6 separate regions of the Homo sapiens genome follow, and regions 2, 3, 4, 5 and 6 are each linked to region 1. The links are contacts of gene promoters, found by promoter capture Hi-C in blood cells and fetal thymus (Javierre and others, 2016). All regions are on one chromosome and are shown on one strand. Each heading gives the region's core, a stretch centred on a gene start or on the middle of the fragment in contact. The rest is flanking DNA. Distances are from core to core; before and after follow the strand shown.

Evidence for each region. Contacts are between HindIII fragments. The CHiCAGO score rates a contact against its expected background, and 5 or more counts as called.
Region 2: a fragment that was not itself captured here is called in contact with the fragment with the promoter of BMP10 in region 1 in 1 of 17 cell types (non-activated CD4 T cells); the score reaches 5.4 in non-activated CD4 T cells.
Region 3: a fragment that was not itself captured here is called in contact with the fragment with the promoter of BMP10 in region 1 in 3 of 17 cell types (naive CD4 T cells, non-activated CD4 T cells and naive CD8 T cells); the score reaches 7.5 in naive CD4 T cells.
Region 4: a contact is called between a fragment that was not itself captured here and the fragment with the promoter of BMP10 in region 1, in 7 of 17 cell types (naive CD4 T cells, activated CD4 T cells, total CD4 T cells and 4 more). The highest score is 7.4, in naive CD4 T cells.
Region 5: a contact is called between a fragment that was not itself captured here and the fragment with the promoter of BMP10 in region 1, in 1 of 17 cell types (total CD8 T cells). The highest score is 5.2, in total CD8 T cells.
Region 6: a contact is called between a fragment that was not itself captured here and the fragment with the promoter of BMP10 in region 1, in 1 of 17 cell types (naive CD4 T cells). The highest score is 5.8, in naive CD4 T cells.

Annotation. Positions count from the first base shown.
Region 1 is chr2:68,869,856-68,873,375 of GRCh38, forward strand. It overlaps BMP10 (bone morphogenetic protein 10), which reads right to left and starts at 1,542. Exons shown (of 2, transcript NM_014482.3): 1 at 1,170-1,542. The coding sequence starts at 1,503. RefSeq lists a silencer at 1,358-1,518. The HindIII fragment of the contact is 2,140 bases long and covers 510-2,649 here.
Region 2 is chr2:68,624,494-68,628,013 of GRCh38, forward strand. It overlaps the pseudogene LOC100379290. Among named protein-coding and RNA genes, the nearest start is that of PROKR1, 17 kb to the right of the region's middle. The HindIII fragment of the contact is 3,535 bases long and covers 1-3,390 here.
Region 3 is chr2:68,680,007-68,683,526 of GRCh38, forward strand. No RefSeq gene overlaps it. Among named protein-coding and RNA genes, the nearest start is that of PROKR1, 38 kb to the left of the region's middle. RefSeq lists an enhancer at 1-375. The HindIII fragment of the contact is 2,094 bases long and covers 548-2,641 here.
Region 4 is chr2:68,698,720-68,702,239 of GRCh38, forward strand. No RefSeq gene overlaps it. Among named protein-coding and RNA genes, the nearest start is that of ARHGAP25, 34 kb to the right of the region's middle. The HindIII fragment of the contact is 6,753 bases long and covers 1-3,520 here.
Region 5 is chr2:68,716,440-68,719,959 of GRCh38, forward strand. It overlaps a transcript of ARHGAP25 not described here. Among named protein-coding and RNA genes, the nearest start is that of ARHGAP25, 17 kb to the right of the region's middle. The HindIII fragment of the contact is 1,420 bases long and covers 1,024-2,443 here.
Region 6 is chr2:68,740,270-68,743,789 of GRCh38, forward strand. The region is part of intron 1 of ARHGAP25 (Rho GTPase activating protein 25); the gene reads left to right. Among named protein-coding and RNA genes, the nearest start is that of ARHGAP25, 7.2 kb to the left of the region's middle. The HindIII fragment of the contact is 4,735 bases long and covers 1-3,520 here.

The DNA of each region.
Region 1 (3,520 bases), core at 292-2,791:
CTCATTAGTAGTCACTAAAGTTTGATCAGCACTTCATAGTAAATGGAGTGCTTTCTTATCTGTAACCTCCTTTGAGTCACTCAACTATGTTATGTAGGTATTATTACTCCCACTTTATAGATGAGGAAATTGAGGCTCTGAGGCATCAGCTAATTATTCACAACCACTAAGCCAACTAGCTCTCAAAATCCCAAATCCTGAGCTATTTCTTCACTATTACCTTTCTTCTTTCAAGAACATCTGGCCAATATTAACGGGAAGCTTCTTTTATACCTGGTTAGTGACTATAAAAGCATAACTGGCAAAAATTAAATTAGTTCCTTTGGACCTTCAGCTTCTACTATAGATATCTAGATATCAGGGGTTTTTTTTCCTACTAGGACCATATTAACCAAAAAACAAACAAACAAACAAACAAACAAAAACATTAACTTGCTAGCTCATTAGATTTAGTTACCAAATTTAAAGACCTAAGAGAAGAAAACACACTTTTCCCACCAATAATTCAAAGCTTGTACGTTGCTCTTTATAAAGACGGAAATGATGAGCTGGATGATTAATGGGCCATCTACACTTCCTGGAAACTGTAAACAGTGCTTTAAGGATGTACATGACACATCAAACAACACAGCCTTAGGAAGAATCTTTAAAATATATTTCCATCCTGTTTGAACATTTCTTAAATAAGGTCACAAAATAAAAACTTATCAAAAGTTTGAACAAAACACAAATCACAATTTGATGTTTTTTGACTGTTTTTACCCTTTTTATTCTAAGTAGAAGTTGAGAAATTTTTTAGTTAATTAAAAGCCCATATGGCAATCAAGGCCTATTTGGAAAATGACAAAGGTACGGCAGTAGACCAACATTAATTCTTTGTATTACTTGGTGTTCAAATTAACATTTTTTAAAAGGACCCAATTATGATGTCAAATTGATAGATGTTTTGTGGCTTTGGATTAAAAGATGTTTGTAAGTATTTTTCGAGGTTCCTGAAATGACTATATAATTGGTATAGAACAAAATGTGCCTTGTTTTTGTGTATCCATATGTATTTAACATCCTTATATAGATGTATTTACCCTTACCTATATCATTCCCATGCATTGTAAATTTACTTATTGTGTCTTGAAAAAAATCCTAGCAAAATTTCATCAGCAAAAACTTACCTTCATTCTTGAAACTCCTAATGATGTTGGCAGAGGGCATGGAGGTCCGATCTGTTGCAAATTTGTTGTAGAGTTCCAACATGTACTCTGGTGGGTCCACCTTGGCTGAATCCTGCGTGGGGATGTCAGAGAGGTTTAGTGTCTTAAGAAACTCATCCTTCATGCTCTGGAGCAGTGTGTTAAAGTCGACACCGTCTTGCTCTGAGAAAACATCACCAAAGAGGGACATATCTTCTTCCAGAGGAGACTGCTCTAGGTTCATGATGGGGCTGCCAGAAACCAAGTAAGCTGCCAGGCAGAAAAGAGCGCACAGTGTCAGGACCAGAGAGCCCATGACTCCGCTCGAGCTCCTAGGCCAAGCCAGGAAGGTTTAGCTTCCCTGGGCTCTAAGTGGCAGTTTTATCTTGTGGAACGTAAATGTCTCCTGTCACTGGAGACAAGTTTGGAAACTCTTCCTCTCTCTCTCCCTCCCCCTACCACTCTTCCTCTCCCCCTAAAAGTCAGGTTGCAGTAATTGGATAACAAAATCCCCTATAGGGGCCTAGCCTTTCTTATCTCCCTAGTGTAAACTTGTGCACCAGAATTTGTTTCTATCTTGCAATCCCTATTTCTTTTAATGAGCATTTTGTAAACATTTCCACATTCTGACACTGGTTGAGAGATAGGACAATTTTCTCTTTGCAAAGGCTCTGCTTCTCTTCCCTTCAATTCACTTCCTTTCAGCAGGAATGCCTAAATTCTGTTTTTATGGGGCTTAGTTTCACACATGCATATAATAGGTATAAGAATCAACATAATGCACATCAATGGTGATACATGTTAATTTGAGAGGTAGGGCTCAGATAAACACTTGTGAAGACAGACCAAATATCCAAACTTTCCAAGTTTAAGTTAATAGCTATAAATGAATTATATAAATTTTTAGAAGTGTACCTTTTTAGAAACAGGAAAGTATAAACTTCATGATTGACAGGCTTTTTCCTACCTATTTGATCTGGCTAAAATAGCATTTGAAAAATAGGGCAAGTGCTTAGTTATACTGGCAACTAGAATTTATTAGATGCTTCCTACAAACAGGCATTGTACTGAGTGCTTTACACCTATCATCAAGTGTGCTCCTGTAATAACCGTATCATTATCTCCATCACATATATGGGTCAGTGAAGTGCCATAGCTTGCCAGAGGCCACAAAGTTGCAAAGTGATGGGGCCACAATTTCAACCAAGGCAGCCTGATTCTTATGAAGAATAAAACAGTCACACTTTTAAACCACTCTTCTACCAGACTAGGGCATGGGCAATAATGCTGAGAGGCCAACACGTCCCCAGATCAGCCTGGAGGCAGGAGGCAGGCAGAAATTTGTAGCTGGATGTGGACCTCAGGTCCTCCATCTGTGCAATGAGTTGTTAATATAACCAACATCTCTGCGAAATTCATCCTTCTGACTCAATCAAAATTGTCATCAAGAGGCTCCAGCAAAAGCTTGGTGTGATGGTTAATACTTACTGTCAACTTGATTGGATTGCAGGATGCAAAGTATTGATCCCGGGTGTGTCTGTGAGGGTGTTGCCAAAGGAGATTAACATTTGAATCAGTGGGCTGGGAAAGGTAGACCCACCCTTAATCTAGCTAGGCACCATCTAATCAGCCGCCAGCACGGTTAGAATATAAAGCAGGCAGAAAAACGTGAAAAGACGAGACTGGCCTAGACTTTCAGCCTATCTTTCTCCCATGCTGGATGCTTCCTGTCCTTGAATATGGGACTCCAAGTTCTTCAGTCGGGGAACTTGGACTGGCTCTCCTCGATCCTTAGCTTGCAGACAGCCTATTGTGGGACCTTGTGATCGTGTGAGTTAATACTTAATAAACTCAGAAATATATCTCCATCCCCTATTAGTTCTGTCCCTCTAGAGAACCCTGACTAATACACTCGGCAAACAACATTACTAGGCACACAAAAAACGCCAAATGCCTTGGTCCTGAAAATAAAAATGGTAGAATCGATTGTGTGTCCAGATTAGGAAAGACAAATCAGGTTCATCACATTTTCCATTCTAACTAGTGACAGTAGCAGCCGGGGTGCAGCCAGAGAGGCCCTGCGGACAAGCCCAGGGGATGTTTTTCCCACTGAGGTGGTAGTTCTGGTATCTTTCTGACGTGCACACCATTACTCACGCGTCCTGGTGCTGTGTTCCAAGGGCTGTGTCAAGATATTTGGTTCACTGGAATCCTTTCTCAGTTTCTAGGTTAAATTTTCCTATATTCATGCTCATCGTTTAGCTACAATGTCTCCACTTAACTTTTTCTCCAGGCTCACTTAGGTTTCTAGTCATCTTTTGATTCTTTTTCCT
Region 2 (3,520 bases), core at 373-2,872, 250 kb before region 1:
CTTTAACAGTAGGTAAGTATTGAGTCAAGTAAGATAAAGATAAGGCTTTCAAGCAGTCTTCCAGGAAGTCACCAGATAGGTTACATAATGACAAATTTTTTGTGAATACAGTTAATCCACTTCCAGTGGTGCTGGGAATATAGGCTATTATTTCCAAGACTACTGCTGGGCCTGGGAGAAGGGCTTGCACTAGGGTAAATTGAAACCCCACAATGCTTGTTGTTCTTACAGTTTTGTTTTGTTTTTTTTTTTTTCCGAGACGGAGTCTCACTCTGTCACCAGGCTGGAGTGCAGTGGTGCCATCTCAGCTCACTACAACCTCCGCCTCCTGGGTTCAAGCGATTCTCCTGCCTCAGCCTTCTGAGTAGCTGGGACTATGCCACATGCCACCACACCTGGTTAGTTTTTGTATTTTTAGTAGAGACGGGGTTTCACCATGTTAGCCAGGATGGTCTCGATCTCTTGACCTTGTGATCCACCTGCCTTGGCCTCCCAAAGTGCTGGGATTACAGGTGTGAGCCACCACGCCTGGCCCTTACCTAGTTTTTTTTGAATAAGTTCTTATATTACTCAATCTCTGGCTAATTTCCAGAGTTCCAAAAAAGTTAATGTTGAAAGATTTTGACAGTTTATTTTTTGTTGCTTTCATAGGGGGCAAAACTCCTGAGTTTCTTACTCTGCCATTTTTCCTGATGTTCTATTTAATCTTGAATAATCATACTCACACTGGATTTTTGAGGATGTTCTGCAGTATTTCAAACACTTTCATATCCATCTTCTCATTTTATTCTTATAGTAAACTTTGTAGCTGAGAAGTAAACATCCCTTTTATGGAGGAGAAATGTAAGGTGTCCTGCAGGCAGTTACTCTGTCTTCTGTGTGCCCCAGCTTCTCTATCATATCATCCCATTAATTTAGATTAATTTTTTATAGCTAGACAATAAACTCCAAACAGAATAGATAATGTTATTGTCTCCTTGAGACCAAGCACATAGCATAGCTTTTATTCTAGAACAGAGTACATGTTTTGGAATTTAAAAATGAATAAAAAATAAAGTTTAATGTTTAAGACCTCTTTCCTGATGAAATAATTTGTGTCCTGCAGTGTTAGACCTGAAAGTGTCCTCAGGGGCTACATGGGGAGGAAATAGATTGCACAGGACTTAGCTTCCTATCTCAATGTTTCAACAGAACCATTCCCCCTTTAGTCATCTCTCTCCTAATGTTCATTTGACAAATATTAATGGAGCTCCTACTATGAGTCTGGCCTGATAAAAGAAGTTACAAAGAGAAATTAGGAAAGCAGAGACCTTGTCATGGAATTTACATTGATGAGAGAGAAAATAAAAATGAAAAAACATATAATTTCAAGTGGAAATAAATGATAAAAAAATAAAGCAGAACAAGGTAGGAAGGCACTGGGGAACACAAAATGATTTTAGATAGGGTTATCAGAGGTGTCCTCTCTGAGGTGATATTTAAGCAAAGATATGAATGAAATGAAGGTCAGGTCATCTGAAGATATGGGGGAAATGTTCCAAGCAGGGGAAGCAGCAGGTGGCAAGACCCTGAGTTGGGAGTGAGTTAGCATGATTCAGGAATGACAAGACCACAGTGGCAGAGGTGGGATGAACAAGGGCAGAGTGCCATAGGAGAGAGTGGTAGAGATCAACATGGTGGGGCCATGCCGTATTTTGCAAGTCAGTGCTGCTACGTTAGATTTGTCTTGAACAAATAGTATTTTGGCTAAAGTAAAAGTTTGAAAAGCACAAATTTTATGTTAAAATTTATTATTATATATTTACTTGCTCCTTCCTTCCCTTTCTCCTTGTCTCCCTCCCTCTCACCTTTCCTTCCTTCCTCCCTCCCTTCCTCCCTCCTTCCCTCCCTCCCTTCCTTCCTTCTTTCCTTCCTTCCTTCTTTCCTTCCTTCCCTCCCTCCCTCCCTCCCTTCTGTTCTTTTCTTTCTTTTTATTTATCTTCCCTACCAACAGAGTCTAGATCATGTCTTCTTTACCTGTGATTAACACAGGACCTGGCACATAGAGGGTAATCAAATGATATTTTTCTGAATGAGTGAGAAAATTGAGACCCAGAGAGGCCAAGTAGCATTTTTAAGGCCACCCAGATAGTGACAGAACAAAATCCAGATTTGTGTTTAGCTCATCTTCTGTCACTTTACCACATCAGTTGCATGGAATTAAAAACAGATCCAAAGATTTTATAATTAGTGTATGTGGTTTGTTTTCTGTTACTGACTCCAAGTATAATCTAGTCACACAATCACACGGCTAAGACATTAGTGAAAGACGATTATTGTTTCATTGGGTTAAGGAGAAAGGTTTCCTGGTGACAGTTAGCATCAAAGATATACTGTGTTATAAAGAACCACAGGGTGTGATTGAGGTAGGATGGAGGAGGGACTGCTCTATTGGTACAGTGTCCTGTATCAGGGAGGGATAGTTTGGTTGCAGTCTTTCCTTAATTAGAGGAGGAGAGATAAGGGGAAAATATCATCAAGAAAATGAAAAGTTTTCAAAGTAGAAAATGCCACATTTTCTACTTTGCAGATGCAAAGGCCAGGAAGCAGACAGAGTCAGAAAACAAATTGTCTAGAATGACCCATAGTGCTCTGGAGTACTTTAATGTGATTGGCCAAGGCTTGAAGCATCTCTTCTGGCAGCAGCCCAAGAAGTCATCCATGTCTCCATGTGATGTGCAGAAAATTCAGGCAGATCCAGAACCTGAAATAGATCTGGAAAGCCAGAACACATGTGCTGAGACTGAGAGTAGCCCCACCTCCCACCCCACAGCTCTGAATCAGTTCCTGCAACAAATCCAAGTACCATTCAAGATGAAGACAAGACAAATTTTTATGGCAGGCAGGGCAAGCCAGAGGCCTCAAAGGAAAGTCTCAAAATCAGTAGGGTATACGGCCAGGATATGGCAGCTATCAAGCAGTCAAGCCAACCTAGGTTTTCTTCATCTGTGACTAATGCTCCTACCAGCTCAGCTGTGGTGGAAATAGCTTGTGCTGCTGCTACATGTCAATCAGGAGAGGAGGCAACTGCAGAATAGATGGAGCATTTGGAAGTAAGCACTCTTGCTCAGATCTCTAGTGCAGTGTCCACCAACACTGATGGCAACATCCACCCAGGTCTCATCGATGGAACACTAGGTGCTCAGTGCACAAAAGCTGCTATTGCTGCCCTGCAAGAGGAGATCCTGAAGCTGACAGAATAGATTGACATTGTACCAACAGCCCAAAGGATGACGTTGACAAGTACCTAATGCTTGCCAATAGTGCAGGCAAGCAACAGGTGGTCCACATCAAACAGGTCTCTGAGAAGAACCTGAAATCTTCCCAAACCATCTTTCATCTGCAAAAACAAGCTTGAGGACTACCACTGGAAGTTTCAGAAGGTGGAGCAGAATGGGTTCTGTGGCAACCAAAGGACATCTTCAGGAATATGCACCAGGGTCTAAAGCATATGGGAGCAAAGCTGATCGGCTTCAGTGAG
Region 3 (3,520 bases), core at 345-2,844, 190 kb before region 1:
TTCTGCGTCGCTCACGCTGGTAGCTGTAGACCGGAGCTGTTCCTATTCGGCCATCTTGGCTCCTCCTCAATTTTTGTATATAGTGAAAGGTAAGGGTCCAGTTTCATTCTTCTGCATATGGCTAGCAAGCTATTCCAGTACTATTTATTGAATAGGGGATACTTTCCCCATTGCTTATTTTGGTCAATTTTGTCAAAGATTTGATGGCTATAGGTGTACAGCTTTATTTCTGCATTCTCTATTTTTCTACAGAAATTTTAGGGTTTATAAAGTGAACATATACAAGCTGGAAAACAATGTAGCAATTATTTAATCTAAACTCTTTGTTTTATAGAAAAGAAAGTTTGGCTCTAGGAATTTGCTGAAGATTGCATAACTAATTGGTAGTAGGATTTTAGAAAAATTGTTTTCCCATTCAGTTAGGGTTGCAGTGTAAGTTCAAAGTTGTTACTTCATGCATTCACTTAACAAATACTTATTACAGGCCTACTATGTGGCAAGCAGTGCTCTAAACACTAGAAGTCTGGTGGGTGGGAAAATCAGAAAAAGCTTTGGCTTCTGGAGTTTATATCCTTGTGGGGATAGACAGGGAATAAACAAATGAATATATACTGTAGAAAATGAAGAAAATGAAGACCAACAGCAATTGGGGATGATGGTTATTTTAGATTGATGGCTGTTTTAGATTTAGTTTTCTTGAAAGAGGTGGCATGTGAGCAGACACCTCAATAAGGTAAAGGAAAAAGCTGTTGGCATATCTGGGCAGAAAATTCCAGGTTGAAGAAAAAGTGCAAAGGCCCTGAAATGGGAAAAAGACTGGAGTGTTTAAGGAATAGTGAGAAGGCCGGGGTAGGTGGTGCAGAGTGAATAGAATGGAGGAAAATTAGTGATAGAAACTGGGGAGCCAGAAGCCAAATTACACAAGACCATGTAGTCCGTGGAAGGACTTTGTATTTTATTCTAAGTGTTTGAGAAGACATAGGGGAATTTCGAGTGGAGGAGTAATCAATACGAAGTGCCTTTAACATGTGCATTCTCCCTATCATGTGTAGAATAGACTGTGGTTGCAGGGGTGGGACAAGGAGGCCAGTTAGGAAGCGCTAGTCCTGGTGAGATATAAATGTGTCCTAGGCAAGTGTATTAGTCTGTTCTCATACTGCTAATAAAGATGTACCAAAGACTGGGTAATTTATAAAGGAAGAGGTTTAATGGACTCACAGTTCCACATGGTTGGGGAGGCCTCACAATCATGGTGGAAGATGAAGGAAGAGCAAAGGAATGTCTTACATGGCAGCAAGCAAAGAGAGCATGTACAGGGGAACTCCTCTTTATGAAACCATCAGATCTCCTGAGACTTATTCACTATTTATAAGAACAGCACCTGAAAGACCCGTCCCACCCCCATGATTCAATTACCTCCCACTGGGTCCCTCCCATGACATGTGGGAATTATAGGAACTACAATTCTAGATGAGATTTGGATGGGGACACAGCCAAACCATATCAGTAAGGTAGTCATATTCAGCTTCACTTAAAAATTGATGCCATAAATGTAGTTAGGTTTTAATGGAAAGTTCACATTTTTCTAGCAAATCCACAGTCATTAAGATGTTCTTTCCTGCATGTGTGGTGGGCCAGGGGCAGAACACACATGCACAGGTATGTGCCCATACGTGTTTGACAGCTCAAATGGGACATTGGATCTATTTGGGAGGACTATTTCAATGGGAAAAGTGGATGGATTCAGGCTATATTTTGAATTTGAAACTAATAGGACTTTACCAGTATTAAATATAGGAAGACAGAAGAGTTGGGGTGCTTCCAAGGTTTTTCCTGAAAAACGGGGCAAAGAGTGGTAACATTTCATGTATTGGGAGTGCTGGGGATAACCAGGCTTTGGGAGAGTAGTAAGATATTCAAAAAGAGTAAGTTTAAGTGTTAAGTTAGAATGAAGGAATTGAGAAGGTACTCAGATATACCATTCTGGAAATCTTGAGAAAAACGGGGACTGGAAATCGAGCCATCAATGTCTAGACAATATTTAATGCCATTGGATCACATGAGATTGTCTAGAAGGTATGCATAGAAAGAAGAGATGGCCAATGATTAAGTCCTGGAACACTAGCAAACAGAGGCTGTGTGAAAGAAGAGGATGCATTAAATGTTACCGAGAGGGAAGGAGTTAAGAATTAAACAAATGAGTCCTGTGTACTAACATACACCAGGTTGTTCAGCATACACCAGGTTGTATGCTGGAAGCGGCACATAAACATTAGTTGTTTCATGTATTCATTTACTTAAATACTTATTTAGAGAGAAAAGGTCCTTTCCTTTCCCACATGGAACTTAGTCTTTCATGGTGGAAGGTATGCCACAGCTTAGTAAACAAAAATTTAGAAATCAGAAATTAGTAACACAGAAAACAATAAAAATTAAAATGTGGATGGTCAATGAAACCAGTAAAGTTTGTTCTTTAAAAAGACTTGTAGAAGAGGGAAATCCCTGTCAAAATTGACAAAGGACACAAGAAGAAAAGGCAGGAAAAAAAAATTATGAAAGTACGATATAAGTACAAATAGAGTAGCTCTTTTAAAAATCATAAGACATTATCATGAACAACTTTATGCCAATATATTTAAAAAGCTTAAGTATCCAACAACTACAAAATACACATTGATTTTCCAAGATAGATTATCGGCTGGGTCATAAAACAAGTTTTAATAAATATCAAAGAATTGACATTATACAGAGTATGTTCTCTGACAAATGTGATTGGATAATAAATCAATATCAATTATACAGCTAAAATAATTCTTCAGAGTTTAGAAATTAGCACATTTAAAAATAATCCAATGATTCAAAGAAGAAATTATAAGGAAAAAATATTTTGAACTGGATGATAATAAAACATAATATATCAGTATTTGTGGGACAGTTCTTAGAAAAAATTTATAGTTTTAAATGCTTATACTTAAAGGAAAATGGTTTAAAATTAATGACCTAAGTTTTCACATGAATACGCCAGAAATGAAAGAAAAAGGTAAATCTAAAGGAAGTAGAAGAAAGTAAATAATAAATATAAAAACAAATTTTAAAATAAAAAGAAGGCTGAAAAATGGACACATTTAAAGTTTGTTCCTTGAAAAGATTAATAAATTGATACATCCTCAGCAAGACAGAGAAGAAAAATACAAATAACCAATACCAGGATTGAAACAAGAGATATCAGTGAAGATTCTATATTTATTAAAAAGAGGGGGTAATATGAACAATTTTATGCTAATAAAATTTAAAATTCAGATAAAATGAATGAATTTCTAGCAAGATACAACTTAACAAACTTACACACACAAAAAATGGAAAATCTTAGTAGCTTGCCTTCCTTCCTTCCTTTCTTTTTTTTTTTCTGAGACAGTGACATTCTCTATTGTCCAAGTTGGAGTGCAGTGGCAAGATCATAGCCCACCATAGCCTTCACCTCTTGGGTTCAAGCAAACTTCCCACCTTAGCCTCCTGAGTA
Region 4 (3,520 bases), core at 641-3,140, 170 kb before region 1:
TTATTTAATCTCTTGGCTCTGTATGAATACAAGGTAGTAATTATCTGCCACTCAGAGAGTCAAGATAATCTGTATGCTTTCACAATAAGAAACAAAACCCATCTGCTTCTGGGAATAGGGAGGGAAATAAAACTGCCTACATCCTGGACTTCACTTTATTTGATGTGAGGTGAAGTCATCTGCTGCCAGAGTTGCATCTCCCCCATCCCTATTACTTCCACCTACTTTCCTCTTCCCACATCCCCTGGCTGGCCATCTCATCCCAGGCTTAAGTTGGCTGTTGCTGAAGAGGGTAAAAAAGACTCCTGCTCTTCCACCTTGCCTGGACACTAGGAAAAAAATCTTTCTCCTCCTGGGGAAGGAACAGAAAATTTGCTTGGAGTGACATCATTCACTGATACAAAAACTGAAGTATGCTGCCACTGAAGGAGAGGCAAGAAACTGGTTTGCCCAAAACCTCCCTGCCAATACAAGCCAGAGTTTTGTTGCTATAAGGAGGAGTAGCAGGAAACCTACCTGTGTGTTAGGCCCTGGACTTCGTAGAAGACAAAGGTTATCTGGCACTGGAGGAAGACAGACAAAGAGAAAGCCATATTCTGTGATTCAGGAAGACAGAGACTGCCTAAAACTGAGGCTGAAGCAGAACAGAGAAACAGCCCCTGCTGCCACCATGAGCCTCAACTGAAGAACCAGCAACTACCACTGAGTAAAAGTGAGTACAGAGACCATCTCTGTGACACAAGAGGCCAGGCCTGGCTAAAAACTGAAGGCAGGGTGGCATTATTAACAAAAACCATCTGGAACTCAAGACTGCTTACCACAAGGTAGCAATGATCTACCACTGAAGGAATAGGAAGCCAGTGCAGTGGTACACTAAAACTATAGCACCAAAAAGAAAAAGAAAATCCAAACTAAGCTCAATTATTGGCTAGATCAACTCACTCCTTTACACACACATCTACACACACACACAAACACACTTGGTCTGAAAAAATAACTGTGTCAATTTTCCAACATAAACATTATTTAATTTACTCTCTACCATTCTTTAACATTCATTGTTTGGCATTCAATTAAATATTATAAGACAGAGAAAAAAAAGGAAAAACATATTATCAAGAGATAAAGAGAACAGAACAAGACTCAGAAATGGCCAAGATGTTGAAACTATCAGCCAAAGGATTTAAAATAACTATGATTAATATAATACAGAATATAGTAAAAAAGGTGGTCAGCTTGTATAGGCAGATGAGAAATTTCAGCAGAAAAAAAATAAAACTGTAAAAAAGTGTCAGCTGGGTACAGTGGCTCATGCCTGTAATTCCAGCACTCTGGGAGGATGAGGCAGGAGGATCACTCGAGACTTGGAGTTTAAGAGAAGCCTGAGCGACATGGCAAAACCCCAGTTCTACAAAAATATTTTTTAAAAAATTAGCCAGGCATAGTGGCTGTGCCTATAGTCCCAGCTAATCAGGAAGCTGAGGCAGGAGGATTGATTGAGCCCAGGAGATTGAGGCTGCAGTGAGCTGTGCTCATACTACTGCACTCCAGCCTGGGTGACAGAGCAAGACCCTGTCTCAAAAAAAAGTGTCACATCAAATGTTATAGATTTTAAAATCTGTGATGCTAAAGAAATATACTTCTTTTGGTTAGAATGTCATAGAGAAGCAGGAGAGAAAATAACCAGCAAATTTGAAGATATATCATTAGGAATTACTCAAAATAAGACACAAAGAAAATAAAGCAACAGAAAATAAACAATTAAAGAACTCAAGATTTCTGAACAATATCAAACATCTAACAAAGGCAGTCTGCTAAGCTGAAGAGAAAGACAATATAGCAGAAGAACTATTGGAAGAGATAGTGGTCAAAATTTTTTCAAAATTAATAAAATATAACAAACCACAGATCCAAACAGCTCAAAGAACAACAATACAATGAAAAAAGCCAAACTGTTGAAAACTAAATAGAAAGAGAAAGTCTTGAAGAGAAGATAGAAGGAGGGGCAAACCCATCGCATACAGAAAAACAAATACAAGAATAACAGCCAACTCCTCACTGGGATCGATGCAAGCCAGAAGACAATGGACACTGTCTTAAATAAAAAAAAAAAAAAACAAAAAAACCTGTCTTCCTAGAATTATATACCTAGTGAAAATATATTTCAACAATAAAGGTGAAATGAATATTTTTTAGGTGAACAAATCCTGAGAAAACTCATTGCCAGCACATCAGCACTATGATAGAGGTTAAAAATTTTTTTTTTAGGTAGCAGAATATAATACTAGATGGAAATAAAATTTGGATATACACAGAGGATTGAAGGGTGATAGAAATGGCAAATATGGTAGGAAATCTTAAATGACTTTTATTCTTCTAAATTTCTTGAAAAGATAATGGACTGCTTAAAGCAAAAATTAAACTTTTTGTTGTATTTATAATATATATAAATTAAAATGTATGACAGTGATAGCACAGTGACAGAGCAAGGGAAAATAAGAGTATACTGTTGAAAGGAGTTTATGCTACATGTAAAGTGGCATAATATTACTTGAAGGTAGACAGTGATAAGTTTAAGTACTGTAGTCCTATAACAACTACTAACCAATACATAAATAAATAAAAGAGTTATAGCTAATAATCCAATAAATAAAATAAAATAGATTTATAAAAATAGCAAATTAATTAAAAAGTGCAGGAAAAAAGGAACAAAGACCCTAATAACAGAATTTCAAAATATAATTTTTAAAAACCCAACCTGATAAAACAGAAAACAGACAAAGGCAAATTCAAAATTACAGCTAAAGGTTTTAATACTTTACCCTTAGAAATAAATAAAATGAGTAGAGGAAAAGTAAGTAAGGATATAGAAATCTGAACAAAGCTATCAACCAGTTTTATCTACTTTACAATTATAGAAAAATCCACTTACAACGCTAGAATACATATTCTTTTCAAGTGCACATACATCATTTATCAAGATAGGCAATATTTAAAATAATTTTTAAATGATTCAAATTATATAACGTATACTCCTTGAACATATGCTTCCATTAAAGTTTTAATATCTAGGATTTATAAGGAACTTAAACAATTGAACAAGTAAAAGACAACCCCATTAAAAAATGGGCAGAAGATATAAACAGACATTTCTCCAAAGAAGACAGACAAGCAGCCAATAAACATGACAAAATGCTCAACATCACTAATCATCAAAGAAATGCAAACCAAAACCACAGTGAGATACCATCTCACACAAATCACAATGGCTATTATTTAAAAGTCAAAAAACAACAGATGCTGGTGAGGCTGCAGAGAAAAGGGAACATTTATACACTGTTGGTGGAAATGTAAATTTAGCTCAGCCACTATGGAAAGGATTTTGGAGATTTCTCAAATAACTTAAAACAGAACTATCACTCAACCCAGCAATCCCATTACTGAGTATATATCCAAAAGAAAATAAATTGTTCTACCAAAGAGACACACATACTCTTATGTTCATTGCAGCACTATTCAC
Region 5 (3,520 bases), core at 484-2,983, 150 kb before region 1:
AAATGCAGACCATTCAAGGTAGATGGGGACACTGTGGTGAGTCAACTTGATGGGGAGGGGCTCTCAGAGCTCCTGAGTTTGCCCTAGATTATATCTATCCTTCCCTGAAGCTTGGGTGGACATCTTTCTCTCTAAGAAGATGAAGAACATGGGTCCCTTTGCCTTCATAAGTTTGTGAAACTGAAATTTCAGTTGTCCAGCACAAGCAGATTGAGAATGTATATACATCGTTTTATTCAAACCTTCAACCACATGATGTTATCTTGAGGTAGCACTTACACTGGTGAGAAACCACCGTGGGATCTTAGGGTCATCTCAGATAGGCGTCCTTATTCTACTGTATAAGTTTTCTGAACCAAACTTCCTTCATTGTGACATGGTTTTGCCACAGCTGGTCGTTCTCTTTACTCTTTGATCCTGGTTGAACGATTCATGTAGATTCTATCTCTCTTTAAATGTCAGAATGTGACATTCAATATTTTTCGCAGTATTTGTTTTATGTGTATTCCTTAATGTTTCTGTTTTAGTTAAATACAGTCACACATCATTTAACAATGAAGATATGTTCTGAGAAATAGGTTGTTAGGTGATTTCAGGTGATTTCATTGTGCAAATGTCATAGAATATACTTACACAAAACTAGGTGGTACACACCTAGGCCATATGGTACGGGCTATTGCTCCTAGACTACAAATCTGTATAGCGTGTTACTGTACTGTAGGCAATTGTAACACAGTGGTAAGTATTTGTGCATCTAAACATATCTAAACATAGAAAAGGTACAGTAAAATACAATATTATTATCTTATGAAACCACTACTGTATATGGGATCTGTCATCAACAGAAATGTCTTTATGTGGCACATGACTGAATACATCAAACCTTAGGTTCATTGCTGTGTGAATCAGGGACCTCTATGTTAAAAGGCACAGTATGGGAGAAGCATTGTGATCTGGCCCAGGGTCAGGATGTTGAGGCTTTTACTGGCTCTAGAACTGAGTCAATTCAATCTTTTCTTTTTAAGCTTTAGACACTTCCTCTGCAAAAGACGATAACTTAATCACAGCCTCTGACAGGTTTGTGGAGTTGAGGCTTGACAAGGGTGTTAGGTAAAAACTGCAGTCTTGCATATGTGAAGCCAAAGGTCTGAGCTGTGAGCAAACCTATCATCACCGCTATTGAGTGACAGCAGTCACTCGGCCTTTCACATTCCAACTTAAAAAGCAGATGCATATTCCTATGGCTTTTCTTTGTATAAACACTATCCATAAAGCAATGGCAGAAAAGTTCTGGTTTCTTTAAAGTGGGAGTGAAAACTAAGACATATTTTAAGGTGTTCCAAGTGTAGGGGTTTTTATGAGTCCCCCTTCCACTTACCCACATGTGAATTGACATATTTTTGCCAATATAAATTTATTCTTCCTTTCCAAAGCCATTAACTTAATATTCATAAAAAGAGCTCTGTTTTTTCTTTTGCACTCATATTTCATTGGTTTAAGTAACCCACTTTATCATATAATTAGAATAGTAAGTACGGTTTATATCATCTTGGAATGCATTAGCTGGGCAACAGATAATTCACTTGGTGGGAGTAGAAGTAAATGGTGTACTACCAGCTGTGAACACTCAGCAGCTACTATGCACTCATCAAAGAGTGTTATAAAGGGTTACAGAGAATTGGGAACTTAGTTAAGGGCAGATTTGTTAAAAAAAAAAAAAAGTATCTTCTTTGCCAATCAAATGTGTCCCCTCAAAGTAGACCTCTAGAGCCTGGCTACTCAAAGTCTGATCCAGAGACCAGCAGCATCACATCACATTTTCTTTTTCTGGAGGATCTAAGGGGAGAATCATTTTCTCACCTTTCCCAGCTTCTAGAGGCTTCCAGCATTGCCTGATGGCCCCTTTCTTCCATCTTTCTGAACTTTGTTTTGTACTCACACTTTCTACTTCTACAGTCAAATCTCTTCTTACCTCCTTCTTATAAGGGCACACTTGGATAATCCAGCATGGCATCCCCATCTCAATATCCTTGACTTAATCGCATCTGCAAAGTACTTTTACCATATTGTGAAATAATAAGAAATATATAAGTGTGTGTGTGTGTGTGTGTATGTATAGATAGATAAATAGATAGATACCTAGACAGATAGATAGGTACATAGATACCTAGATAGATACATAGATAGAGATATTTGTCTCTGACCCTGGTTCCTGACATAGAGCTCCTAAACTTTTCTAATTCCCTAAGTGGTACGGGTACTAGCAGCATCATTTGTTCTAACATTTGGTCTTTGAGTCCAGTTCCTGACACAGAGCTCTTAAATTTCTTGGTATTTTCTGGGTGATAAGAGTGTCTTTTATTCAAATGAAACAACTCTTGATGAGGCCTTGGATAGCTTTAGGATAGGGGCTTGTCATCAGAAAGACAAGGCCATGATTAGAAGCTTAGCACTTTTAATTCCCAACCTTCATTCTCTGGGGAGGGCAGAAGAGCTAGAGATTGAGTTAGTAATAGATCAAGCCTACATGATGAAGCCTCCAAGAAAAAAAAATTTCCCTCAAGTATGGGTTTTGGAGAGCTCTGGGGTTGGTAAACACATCCATGTACCAGAAGTGTGGTGCACCCCAGCTCCACAGGAATAGAAGCTCCTGCACTCAGAGCCCTTCCAGACCTCATCCTATATACCTCTTTATGTCCTTTATTATAAAAGAAAATGGCAAACACAATAAGTGTCTCCCTGAGTTTTTTAAACTATTCTAGCAAATTATCAACCCCAAGGAGAGGGTCATGGGAGCCCCAGTTTATGGCCAGTCTGTTAGAAGCACAAGTGAGAACCCTGGACTTTTGACTGGTGTCTGAAGTGGGGGCAGTTTTGAAAGACTGCGCCCTTCGTCTGTGGCACCTGATGCTAACTCCAGGTAGATAGTGTCAGAACCGAATTGAATTGTAGGACACCCAGCTGGTATCAGGGAATTGGTCGACATGGCAAAAAAAAAAAAAAAGAAAAAAAACCCCACAAAACAAACAAACAAATAAGAACAACGCCCACATTTTGGTGACCAGATGCAAAGTGTTGAAAATGTAGAGGAAAAAAATAACTTTTTTTTTTCTATATACATGTAAAGGAACACATTCTCATGTTCTAGGGATTAGGATGTGGATATCCTCGGGGGCTGTTATTCAGCCTACCACAACTTTGCTGTCAGATACCATTTTAAGGTAACTTAATGATTATTAACACTACTGTTTAACAAGTGCCTGCTATGACCCAGGCACTTTACATATACATGAAACCTACTTCTTATAAGAATACCCCACAGTAGATATTATCACCCTATCCATGTAGATGAGAAGTCTGGGGTTCAGAAATCCCAGTAATGACAGAGCAGGGGTTGGTACCCAGACCCCCATGGGTCCCAGCCTCTGACCTTCTCTTGGTACCTGACTCATGCCACCATCATAATCACCTGTTTTATTCCCAAACTCAGAATAAGGTACGCCTATGTCCAGGTTTGTCC
Region 6 (3,520 bases), core at 725-3,224, 130 kb before region 1:
CCCCAGACTCGCTGTCTTTCTCACAGTGATTTTCCTGCACATTGTATCTACTTTTTTGGAGAAACAGAAGGCTTTATACTATGTATAGACCCTCTGCATGAAGGAATTAAATGGAAAGTCTTTATGATCTGGCCCTTCTTACCTGCCCACCTCTCTCTTGCCACCTTCCCTTCTCCTGCTGCACACTGGAGACTTCAGCCACATCCTCCCTTCTGTAGCTTCCAGCTCTTTCTCATCTGCCTGGAGCCCTCTCTCCATCTGGGTCTCCCTTACCACCACCAGTTCCTACCCATGCTTTGGTCACAATGTAAACATCTTGTCCACGGGGAGTCTCTAGGTCTTCTGATCACTGGAGAGAGAGTATAAAAATCCTTTCCCAGGCCATTTAAACAGAGAAGTTTACAGCTCTCAATACTATGGACTTCCTTTTAGATAAGAGCCATGAACATTTCTGAACATGCATATATGAGTCAACCCCACAAGTAACTGATCCTTTGGCTTTTGAACAAAATGAGTTGTTCTTAATACGGTATGTAACACCAGCACTCTAGGCCCTCACTGGGGAGAATAACCTCAGATTGCCCAAAGAAAGGGGCTAAATTGTCCATTGACTCTTCTTGATAAAAATTGTGAAAGAAAGGAGGACGTGTGATATAGGAAAGTGTGCATGAGCTTGGGACTCTGCTTTAAGCAGTAGTGAATCTGGGGCAAGTTGCTTAGCTTCTACAAATGAGAGAGTAACACATATGCTGAGAGGAAGAAAATATTTCATGCGTATGACATATATTAGGTGCTCAGCAAACATCTCTTTCCTTTCTTTATAGGCAGTCTCATTTCCAACCTCAGATCAGACTAGAAGCTGTACTTGGATTACATTATCTTGCTACCCTCGCAGAATAGGGCTCACTGAGTTGTCTTTTAATGTTATATCTTCAGTTTATAGCTTCCCTGCAAGTAATGATTTCATGAAATCTGCTCCTAATTGTACTGGAAAAATGAGAATGAAGAATGGAGAACGCCAGCAACTTCTATGTATAACTCTATGTGAGAAAGTTGCTTGGGAATTCAGTGCTCAGAAAATAACTTTGTCTTCTTTGAGGGACTGCAGTGCTTCCTCCTTTCTAGTAAGACAGGAGTGCAACTTACTGTGTTCTCCTCTTTGTCTTGGCTGCCAGGAAGCAGAGCTAAATTTGAAGCTGAGTCACAACTTCTAACGCCCATTTGATTAGCATACTTTTAGTCTTTGTCTTTGATCAGAGTTTATGTGTTCATTGCAAATAATTTCCATACTTTAAAAAATGTTATTATTTAAAAATATAGATGGGGGAGTCTCACTATGTTGCCCAGGCTGGTCTCGAACTCCTGGGCCCAAGCAGTCCTCCTGCCTCAGTCTCCCAAAGTGCTGGGATTATATGCATGAGCCACCACACTCAGCTTCAGATTTCCTACTTTTTAGTAGTGACTGAGCATTGCAATTTATCTAAGAAAGGTTCAAGGAATATTAAAATGTTGAAAGTTATTTCTTTTAGTTCATAAAGTAAAACGCAATTCCATGACCACTCATATTCTTTACCTAGAGTTACATAAAATTATGCAATCTTCAGTACATTCAGACCAGTCATTTCATTTCATGCACTCATTGAGTCACTCATCATAAAACATGTATTTGCTCACTTGTATGTGAGAGGTACTTAAGCAGCATTGCCCTGCTGTGCCTCTCATGCTGCAAGCACCCCTCACCACCCCTCCACCTTTCTAAAAGTGATGCTCAACTTTGCTACTACCATCTATTCTCCTTAAGCTGTGACTGACTAAGGTGACAGCTGCCGCACTGTCTCCTTTCCACGCCGTACTATCCATCCACCCCCAAAATATGCACACATGGATCTCAGCTCTGGATGGGGCTGCGATACCCCACTGCTGGAATTTTGGCCTATGGTGGCTGAACCATTTGCTTCCTTGTTGGTTTGGAGTTTCAAAGTGAAAGAGGAAGCAGTAAGATATAGAGTTCCTGAGTGTGATGTGAATACTTTTTAATATTTTAAAATAATTTTATAAAGTTGACAAAAAGAATTTTCTGACAAAGTGTAAACTAACCATAATGGAATGAGCCAGCTATCATACAGTGGTTAAAAAGCTGGCTTTGGGGCCAGAATGCCTGAATTTGAATCCCAGTATCATCGATCGGTCACTGTGTGACGTTGGACCTCAGGTTTTCCAACTGTAAAATGAGTGCAATCCTAGTGCTAACTCATGCAGTTATTGTGAGGGTAAGAGAAGATGATCTATGTCAAACTTTAGCATAAGAGCTGGTGTCTAGTAAGTGCTTCATAAACACTAGTAATTATCATTATTGTTATGGACATTAGCTATAATGGAGATCTGATATCAGCTCCTTTGAATCAAGTCATTGGTGAAAACCACAGCCAGCAGTGCCAAGGTTTTGTTTGTCTTGATTAGGTTTAGTTCTTCATTCTTTTCTTTAGACATATGGTCTTTACAACATCTGCAGATATCTCCTTTCCTGCCCAGTGTCTGCTCCTGGCTCACAGCACACATGCTGATCTGCAGTTGACTGGTTATGTTCTGCTTCTTACTCTTTATGCTTCCAAATGCCATGTACTCACTTCCTTCTCAATTTGCATGAATTGTGTCAATTTTGTCTGCATGGCTATTCTTGTTTTCTTCCTTTTTGCTTTGTTTTGTTTGTCTATTTTTGCCAGTTATTTTCCAAATAAGTAAAATGCCTGAGTTGTGACTTTCTAATAAGGATAATGATAGCTTCTGGTAAGTTTCCTGCAGAATTCCTGCTGTAGAAATGTCATTGTCTCTGTGCTATGACAGGAGCAGTTCCTCAAACTTTCCTTGCTTTGGGTAGGCAAAGAGTGACTCTGGGTTGTTTGCTGTGTGGAAGACCCTCCTCCATGACTTAGTGCTTCCTCCTCCAGAGCTGCCCACCATCTCCTACTGTCATGCGTACCTCTGGCCACTGAAGTGAGGTTGGAAGTTGTTAGTGTGGGCTTCAGGGGCTCAGTGTTTAACTGCTTGTGATCACTTACATGTGGGTTACAGCAATGGCAGAGCAGTTTTTCCTATTAGCTCTAAGAGTCCTGTACCTGGCCTACCATTCTCTTTCAGATCATTATTTGTAGATATAATTGTGGGGGAAGAGCAGGACCTTCAAAATGAGGCTCCCGCCTTTCTTGTCCTCAATTCTGCTGTTGCTACCCAAAGATTCTTGTGCATGCATTCTTCCTCTTTGACTGTCATTCTGCATTTGATTCCATGCACCTGGTCATTCAGAAGCCAGAAATCCACTTTATTAGTGAGTGAGGAATCTCCTTATGCAGACATCTCAGAGTAAAAATGATAGCAGATGTAGAGTTGTCACCTCCAGTCCATTCTCAGCCCAGCCCTTGTGCTCTGTCCTGAGACCAATCTGTTTGATCTTGATTTTGGCACTGATCTTCTTCCTGTGAGCGTTCCTCATTCTCTTTCCCAGGTAGAGTGACAGCTGGCC